Regions from separate parts of the Homo sapiens genome. Here region 1 is linked to region 2. Evidence: promoter capture Hi-C in human tissues and cell types (Jung and others, 2019). All regions are on one chromosome and are shown on one strand. Each heading gives the region's core, a stretch centred on a gene start or on the middle of the fragment in contact. The rest is flanking DNA. Distances are from core to core; before and after follow the strand shown. Region 1 holds the start of TOMM5 (translocase of outer mitochondrial membrane 5). Region 2 holds the start of ALDH1B1 (aldehyde dehydrogenase 1 family member B1).

Region 1 (4,634 bases), core at 1,866-4,365, 800 kb after region 2:
GAAAGTACTGCTTTAATTTAGGGAATAAAATTCAAATGCTTAAAATCTGTTCTTTTCACCAAGAAACATTATTTTTGGCTAATTTATCCCGTCTTTCATTTCCTATGAAAGTTACTCAAAAGCATCTCTGCAGAGAAAATAAATTGATAGTTTCATATGTGAGCTGTTTTTCTAAATTTTATCAGCATTAGGGGTTGAAGTTACTGGAACCACGTAACAAGAACTCACCCCTTCCCAATCACTTTGCCTCACTATTCGGATGGATGAGATATGCCTTATTTTTACATCCATCCTATCGTGGAACACACACACACACTGACCATTTTGATGTCTGACCATATTTGATGATATTTTCAAAGTCATACACTCCATAACAGAAAGTTCTAGATGACACAATTAAAATTCAAGATGCATAGGTGGTTTTAAAAAATGCATAGACTGTTAGAACTGGAAGAAACTTTCAAAAGCATCTCAATATATGCCTTCCCTTTCCAACTAAACAAATGGAAGAACTGGGTGCAGTGGCTCATGCCTCGGTCAGGAGACTGAGGCAAGAGGATTACTTGAGCCCAGGAGTTTGAGACCAGCCTGGACAACACAGCAATATTCTATTTCTAACAAAATAGAAAAAAATAACCAGGTGTAGTGGCACGTGCCAGTAGTCCCAACTACTCAGGAAGCTAAGGCAGGAGAAGGACTGCTTGAGCCCAGGAGTGTGAGGTTGCAGTGCGCTATGATCACACCACTGCACTCCAACCTGGGCGACAGAGCAAAACTTCATCTCTTAAAAAAGAAAAAAGAAAATTAGCCGAGCGTAGTGGCACACGCCTGTAGTCCCAGCTACTCGGGAGGCTGAGGCAGGAGAATCGCTTGAACCCGGGAGGCAGAGGTTGCAGTGAGCCAAGATCACGCCACTGCACTCCAGCCTGGGCGACAGAGCAAAACTCAGTCTAAAATAAATAAATAAATAAATAAATAAAGAAGAAGAAAGAAATGGAGTTGCAGTGAAATCAGATACTCGTCCCTCATCACACCACTAGTTGGCAGCAGTGCCAGATCTAGAGTCCATGTCTCCAGTGTTCCTGTTCATGTTCTTTCCGCAGTTCTTGCTGCTTTCAACATCACTGCAGGCTTTCTAAACACTCACCAAGGGTTGGCTGGAGGCTATTCCTTGGGAGTCAGCCCCTCCCATTCCAGAGCTGCCTCTGCTATTCCATTGCATGAATTACAGATGCAAAAGGTTGCTAAAGCTGGAATAAGCAGATGAGTTCCCTTTCTTGCCCCAGTGCCTTACATTCTGTCAACCAGAAAGTTGACCGTGCATATAGTTATTAGTTGCTCTCATAGTAAATTATTGTCCTAATTTATCCAAAGTCCATTGTTGCTATGCAATATGCAGTCAAGAAGGAACATTCTGGTTTTGAATTATGTGAGCAATTCAGTCATCTGGCTTGCGTGTAAGAAGTAGATATGGCTAGTTGGCATGCGTAACTTGGGGCAGCAGCCTACTAACTCTGTTTGGATGCTTCTGTGACAGGAAATCTGGTTGCATCAAACTCTTGACTCTAGCGATGTCCATCCATGTGGGCACTAACTGTTAAAGACTAACAGATGAGCAGTAGGGTGCAGGGGAAAGATAATTCAACTTGACATGATAATTATCTGCATTAGAACCCTGCCCGTGCATCACCAGCAGAATGACTAGACTTTAGTGCACTTTAGACTTCAGCTGCGATGTTCCAGATAAAGGGCTTCACACCAAAGCTGGACTTGGTTTCTGAGCCTCTTTCTATTCATCTGTAAAATGCTGATCAGATTTGAACTTGCTTTATACATATTGTGTTACTTGGCTAACAGTATTTTAAAGACCTCTGTGCTTCAATAATCTGTAAAAAGGCCAGGTGCGGTGGCTCATGCCTGTAATCACGGCACTTTTGGGGGCCGAGGTGGGCAGATCACCTGAGATCAGGAGTTTCCAAGACCAGCCTGGCCAACATGGTGAAACCGCGTCTCTACAAAAAATACAAAATTTAGCCAGGCGTGGTGCTGCGCAACCGTAATCCCAGCTACTCAGGAGGCTGAGGCAGGAGAATCACTTGAACCTGGGAAGCAGCGGTTGCAGTGAGCTGAAATTGCGCCACTGCACTCCAGCCTGGGCGGCAGAGCGAGACTCTGTCTCCAAAAAAAAAAAAAAAAAAAAAAAAGTTTCATCTTTGTCTCTTTGTTTTAACTTATGTAAAGTTTCAAACATACTCAAGAAAGACTAGAATAATTAACTAAAATGAAGTACTAGTCACCAGCAGTTTTTAATATTTTGCTGACATCACTTATCTCTCTCAATACTTTTTTCCCCCTCTGAGGTATTTTTAAGCACATTTGGGGGCCAGGCGCGATAGCTCACGCCTGTAATCCCAGCACTTTGGGAGGCCGAGGCGGGAGGATCGCTTGGATCCTGGAACCCAGGAGTTCCAGAACAGTCTCAACCACCACAATTAGCAATAAAAAAATAAATAAAAATTAAAGCACATTTGGGCAAGATGTTTTAAAGATCTCTGTGCTTCAATTGTCTAATCTAGGAAACGAAGATTATAATATCGAATTCACGGGGGACAATTATATTGAATATTCAATAAATGTTAGTTATCACTGTTTACAGTGGTACCTATGTGCACAGCCCCCTCCAGCGCGTAAAAGCACTTTACAGCGCAGCGCTCCAGGCTCAAGATAGATGTTATTGTTGTTGTTATTATTATTATTATTATTATTATTTTGAGACGGAGTCTCGCTCGCTCTGTCGCCCAGGCTGGAGCGCAGTGGCGCGATCTCGGCTAACTGCAACATCCCCCTCCTGGGTTCAAGCGATTTTCCTGCCTCAGCCTCCCGAGTAGCTGGGATTGTAAGCACGCGCCACCGAGCCGGGCTGATTTTTGTATGACAGATGTTATTAAAGACAGCGTGGAGAAACCAGAGCCTGCGTTGCTGAGCTTGCGGCCGCCCGCTTCACACCGCACTTCAGATCAGCTGGGTCAGGACGTGGATTGTCCCGTGCAGGCATCCATCGTCGAGTGTGGCAACGAGAGGGCGGGAACAGGAAGTGAGGATAGGCCGAGTTCCGGGCGCGAGGCGGCCACCGTGGAGAGCAGAGCGCGGCGGCTGGAAGCTGCTAAGTCAGAGCCGCGATGTTCCGGATTGAGGGCCTCGCGCCGAAGCTGGACCCGGAGGAGATGAAACGGAAGATGCGCGAGGATGTGATCTCCTCCATACGGAACTTTCTCATCTACGTGGCCCTCCTGCGAGTCAGTGAGTGTCTCCCGGGCTGTGACTGTGAGACCAGCGGGGAGCTCACCGACGGGCACCCCTTAACTCTAAGGGGTCATCGGGGCCTTCGAACTGAGCTGAACGGTAGCGGGGAGCAAGGAGGGTGCGCGTTGAAGGCGACGGGCATATGCGCGGTTTGAGGTCTGCGGGTCAGGGTCCGGGCACTGAAGTGCACGTGGTGGCCGGCGCGCGTGTTTAATCATCCTGGTTCTCCCAGCTTGAAGAATGTTTGAGCTGCCGGGCGCGTTGGCTCACACCTGTAATCCCACCCAGCACTTTGTGAAGCCGAGGCGGGCGGATCATTTGGGGTCAGGAGTTCGTGGTGGCGGGCGCCTGTAATCCCAGCTCCTCGGGAGGCTAAGGTGGGAGGATTGCTTGAATCCAGGAGGCGGAGGTTGCAGTGAGCCGAGATCGCGACACTGCACTCCAGCTTGAGTGACAGAGCAAGACTCCATCTCAAAAAAAAGAATGTTTGAGCTGAAAGAGCTCAAGTAATTATCCCTAGAGGAACTCCCTCGTTTTTGCAGACAGAGAAACAGAGAAACAGAACCATAGTTCTAGAAGGAAGAAACAGCCTTCTTGGGAAGGCTGGCCAAAGGTCACTCAGCGATTCAGTGAATGATCTTGACCTAAAATCCAGAACTCTTAACTCAGTACCAGGTTCCTTCCCTTTCTTTTCTTTTCTTTTTTTTTTTTTTCCTCGATACACAGTCACGCCCTGTTGCCCAGGCTGGAGTGCAGTGGCGCAGTCTTGGCTCACTGCAACCTCTGCCTCCCGAGTTCAAGCCATTCTCCCACCTCAGCCTCCCAAGTAGCTGAGATTACAGGCGCGCGCCACCACGCCCGGCTAATTTTTGTATTTTTAGTAGAGATGGGTGTTTAACCATGTTGGCCAGGCCGGTCTCGAACTCCTGACCTCAGGTGATCCACCTGCCTCAGCCTCCCAAAGTGCTGGGATTACAGGCGTGAACCAGCGGCCGGGTTCCTTCCCTTTCAAAAGTGCTGACCTTTGAAATCCAAAAAGTTTTGCTTCATTTCTGTTTCTTTGTATAGAGGGTGAAGTGAGTCATTAGTTTTTTGGAAAAAAATGGGAAAAAAGAATATGAGTCTATAGGATTAATGCAAATATTTGAGGTTTTTTTTTCTATATCTTAAAATTGACAGGAAGTTACTCCCATTATATAGTCTTGACAGTGGACCTTTGAGGGAGGCAGGGCCTAAGATTCTTTATATCATTTTACAAATGAGAACTTGATTTTCAGAGGGGACTTAGCAAGGAAGGAAGGTATCAGAGTTATAGGAACACTGAATATAAG
Region 2 (4,307 bases), core at 1,249-3,748:
GAATTGACCTAAGACTTGAGTAGAAATCAAAGGGACTTGGAGATGGTTGTTCTCTGAGAGGGACTTGCTTCATTTCACCTCTGTGCCTCAGTTCCCCCATATGTGAAATGCCTCATGGGGTTATGTTGAATGATGTCTTGCATATAAAAACCCTGGCAAGCTCCACTCAGGACATCAGAACTGGCCGTGCCTCAGAAATTGACCTAGCCCAGCATCCCCCAACCACAGGTCTCAGCATCCCTTTTCAGCTTTCCCAGAGGTGCAGCAAGTCAGGAGGCAGCTGAGAAGAAAAGCTACAACTCTGAAGAGTGTAGACTTCGTTAAAACAACTACTGTTATAAAACTTAAACGGCATATAATACATATTAAATGAAAATTAAACAGAGTGTAGTGTTCCCAGATTAGTTGAAGCAGTTATTCTTCAGTCAGAATTTGAATCTCTCTGCCTTTGATGTCTCATGAGTCTTGCTCCGCCCAGCGGTAAAATGGAATTGCACCTGCCTGTCCCTTCACCCCCAGCCTCTCACCCTCCACCCCTGGGCAGGGAGAGGAACAAAAAACTCAATCAGGAAAGCAAGGCTCCATGTAGGTCCCCGGCCCCATAAAAATCAATGTGATGGGCGTGGTGGCTTACGCTGGTAACGCTTTGGTAGGCCGAAGTGGAAGGACTGCTTGAGGCCAGGAGTTTGAGACCAGCCTGAGCACATAGCAAGAACCGTGTCTCTACAAAAAAACAAAAATAAATTTGCCGAGCATAGTGGTGCATGCCTGTAGTTCTAGCTGCTTGGGAGGCTGAGGTGGGGGCAATCACCTGAGCCCAGGAGGTTGAGGCTGCAGTGAGCCATGATTGTGCCACTGCACTCCAGCCTGGGTAACAGAACAAGACTGTATCTAAAAAAAATAATAATAATCAATGCTGACCAAGAAAGTTTCCCTTCCCCTTGCGGGTGTTAGGAATAATGCTCAAAATCCTAAGGAAATTGAACACTCGAACACAGGATTCTTAGCAAAGCAATTTTACTTCTGCGCAGAGGGATGCCTCCTTGGCCAGTTGCCATGAGAGCACACCTGAACAAAGGGGCACGAGAGCCTTTATTCCTGATGCAAGTCCTGCCCCTGTACCCTTTCCCCATTGGCTGGGGTCAGGTCGTACAATCTAAACTAATCCCGGTTGGCTAAACATTTGATTTATTTTAGATAGAGTGGGCACGTAAAAGAAAGTGGAGAGAAAGGGGAAAGGGTGTCTGTAATGAGCTAGAAAGTTAGTCTTCTTTCCAAATAAGCAAAGGAATGTGAGCTGGTACTGATAACGCTTGGTACTGTGGCATGCCTGGGCATCTAACAAAGGCAAAAAGGAGAAAAATGAAAAAAAAAAAGGGGGGGATACTAAGAATTAAAGAATAAAAGATTGATCAGATTATTTGAAGAGAAACCTCATCATATCCCACAGGGGGAAGCTGAGTCAGCAGATCTGCCAGGGGTGCCCAGGGTTCCATTTAGCTCAGGACTTTGCCATATGCTGGGACACAGCCCCCTTGCCACCAACAGGCCTGGCTCTGAGGGTGAGGAGACCAAAAGGAGGTAGGGGAAAGGGGAGTCACCAACCCATGGGGTAAGGATTGGAGGGGTGAAGCAGTCAGGAGAGGTGGTCATAGGCCAAGGCTGGCAAACCTTTGCAGCCACACCAAGGCCGTTCCTACTCTTGGGGCCTATATGGGGTTCTTGCTGGGGCCTCCACTTGCTGATAGGAAGATCACAGCTCACAGAGCATCATGCTTTACAGTTTGCAGGCTGTCTTCTCACGGGAAATTTGCCAAGCCTCTCTGCAGTCCCTGGGTGGTCAGGGTTGATGATGACCCCCATTCTGGAAGAAGGCTGGGCATCAGAGAGGTTCAGGGACTCACCGAGGACACACAGCAAGAAAGTATAGGAGCCTCACCCCAGACTTCCACAAACCTAGCTTTGCATATCCTCCTGAATACAGGCAATTTTTTACAGTTCACCCACAGCGGGAAGGACCGGACCTTCTCTATCCGCGGGAACTGCAGCGGCGCCCACCTCACCCCTTCTGCGGGGGAAAGGGCGCAACCTTTGGGCTTGTCCAAGCCTCTGGGCTATGGTCAGGGGCCCTCTGTTGAAGTGGGCCGAGTGGGCAGGAGTGTTGAGGTCGAGCTAACGTGGTAAGGTCTGGGGGCGTCTGTGTCCTCGGGGCTCCTGTAGCGTCACCCAGAGGCGGGGGATGGGATTAGGGGACGTGGAGAGAGTCCTACAGTGCAACGGCGGAAAGGCCAGCCCCCAGATGCGGACGCCGCGGCCCAGAGAGGAAAGCCCCCACGCGGAGCCAGGAGCTGCGGCTTCCCGAGGGAGCCGAGGGGAGACCAGCGTTAGTTACCTGCAGCAGGCTCGGGCTCCGGTTCAGGATCACGCTTGGGTTCTGGTTCCGGCCCTCCCAGCTCTGTCCACATGGCCGCCCAGGGCTGGCCGCAGGTCCCGCCTCCGCGCAGCCCGGGGCTCAGCGGCCAATGAGGCTCCGCCTGCGCCTGGGGCGCTGCCTACGTCCTGTCGCCGGCCAAGGCCGCTCCTCCCTCGCCCCGCCCGGTCTTTCCCGGTCCCCGCCCCTCTACCCCCGGCAGCCCGCACCGCTTCAGCGCTCCCTCCCTCGGGTCTCCGCAAGCCCAGTGTCCACGTTGCTCAGATCTAGGCTCCTAAGGCACTGGTTTGGGAGCGGAAACAGAGATACCCAGAGAGGGGCAGGGGCTTCCCCAGGTCACACAGCAAAGTTTTCGGAGACCGAACCCCAACTACACTTTGCATTTCTCCCCGCTGCAAGACGCTGCTTAATCGACTGCCATCCTTGAGACTCCCCTTAACCCCTTCTCTGCCTCGCCTCTCCCTCACTTTTTTTGTCCAGGATTCACTAATTTCTGTCCTCCACTTTCACTGCTCCTTTCTTCAGTTCCTTCAAGAAGATTTTATATTTGGGCATTTTTCAAAGTACATTTTTGTCCTAAGGACAAAAAGAATGTATGCACAGTGTAGAAAGCTTGGAAAACACAGGAAAGGATGAAAAAAGAAGAAAAATATCACCTGTAATCTCTTCACCTACGGTAGCCATTATTACGGTGTTCGTCCTGCTAGTATTGTTTCCTCTGCATCTTTCAAAATTATTTTAATAAAAATAAAATCATATAGTAACCTCTGTTGTGCTGCTTTAAAAAAAATTTAAAAACTTAGCGCTGTATTTTGAAGTTTTCTCCTATCACTAATTACAGATGACATCATCCTCTCCAAGGTGGCATAGAATTCTGTTGTAGGGGTAAACTGTTGGACATTTAATTGTCTCCATTTTGTTGCTATAAAGGTTGCCAAGATGGACCACTGAACATGCATCTCACTCGCTCCACCCTCGCTGCACCTTCCTTCTGGCTAGGGAGGTCCCAAAGCTAACCGCCATGTTTCCCAGCCTCATTTGCAGTTAGAGTTCTGGATGTGGACTAGGTGCTGCCAATTAGTAGTACTCTGCCGGATGTGGAAGGCGGGCACGCATTGGAGGGTATTGTCCTGCCCCTGTAGGGTGGCACTAGCAGGATAGCAGAAATGGGAGATGTTCTGCGGCAGCATTCCTTGTCCCTTCTCCAGCTTTCTGGCTGTGGACCGGCCGCTGTGGCTGTAGCCGCTCCTTGACCTGGCTTCCTGCTCTTTGAATGGAGGCTGCAGGAGGGTGTCTGAAGTAGCCTCAGACAGGCACGAGGCTGGTGGGCCACGTCCATATTGTCCTGAGAGTTGGTCCTGGTCTGGCTAAGGCTTGCTTCTGCCTCCGGCACTTGCAGCAGGTCTGTAAGCACCCAGTTCCTTGTATTAAATCCCTGCCTCTCCACTGATCTAGGGTGCTCACATGCGACTGCTTGGACCTAATTCACTTAGTTCTTTCCTTAAGCTACATCTCTATGGAATCTTTTGCTACCATATCATCCTTAGCATGTTCACAGCCCTTGCTGCAAAAGTTAGCCATCCATGAAGGCACTATGATTGGCATCTTATCACCTTGATGCCCATGCTTTCCTCGGGTTTCTCCAGCAACGGCATGAGCCCCTTGCCAAGGCCCTCCTGCCTCCCCCACAGCACGTGGACAGCCTAGCTCCCCTTGGGCACTTGGCATAGCACTCCAGGACTGATTGACTTAATGATTAACTGACCAATCCTTAAGAGGCCTCATTGATAGAGGGAGTGAGTTTATGGCAAAATGAGTATCAGTCCTCGTGTTAGAGTGCATTGGAAACTGTGGCAGGTCTGAGAGGCCAGCTGCA

The links. The method cuts DNA at HindIII sites, captures the fragments that hold promoters and counts their contacts. A contact is called where the count stands out against the background at its distance.
Region 1: a contact is called between the fragment with the promoter of TOMM5 here and the fragment with the promoter of ALDH1B1 in region 2, in 4 of the 25 tissues and cell types used here (heart left ventricle, lymphoblastoid cells, mesendoderm cells and 1 more).

What each region holds. Positions count from the first base shown.
Region 1 is chr9:37,591,078-37,595,711 of GRCh38, reverse strand. It overlaps TOMM5 (translocase of outer mitochondrial membrane 5), which reads left to right and starts at 3,115. Exons shown (of 2, transcript NM_001001790.3): 1 at 3,115-3,300. The coding sequence starts at 3,180. RefSeq lists silencers at 1,037-1,106, 1,506-1,800 and an enhancer at 2,759-3,518. The HindIII fragment of the contact is 28,692 bases long and covers 1-4,634 here.
Region 2 is chr9:38,390,893-38,395,199 of GRCh38, reverse strand. ALDH1B1 (aldehyde dehydrogenase 1 family member B1) reads right to left here and starts at 2,498. Exons shown (of 2, transcript NM_000692.5): 1 at 2,393-2,498. RefSeq lists enhancers at 2,022-2,111, 2,152-2,201 and a silencer at 2,412-2,731. The HindIII fragment of the contact is 12,047 bases long and covers 1-4,307 here.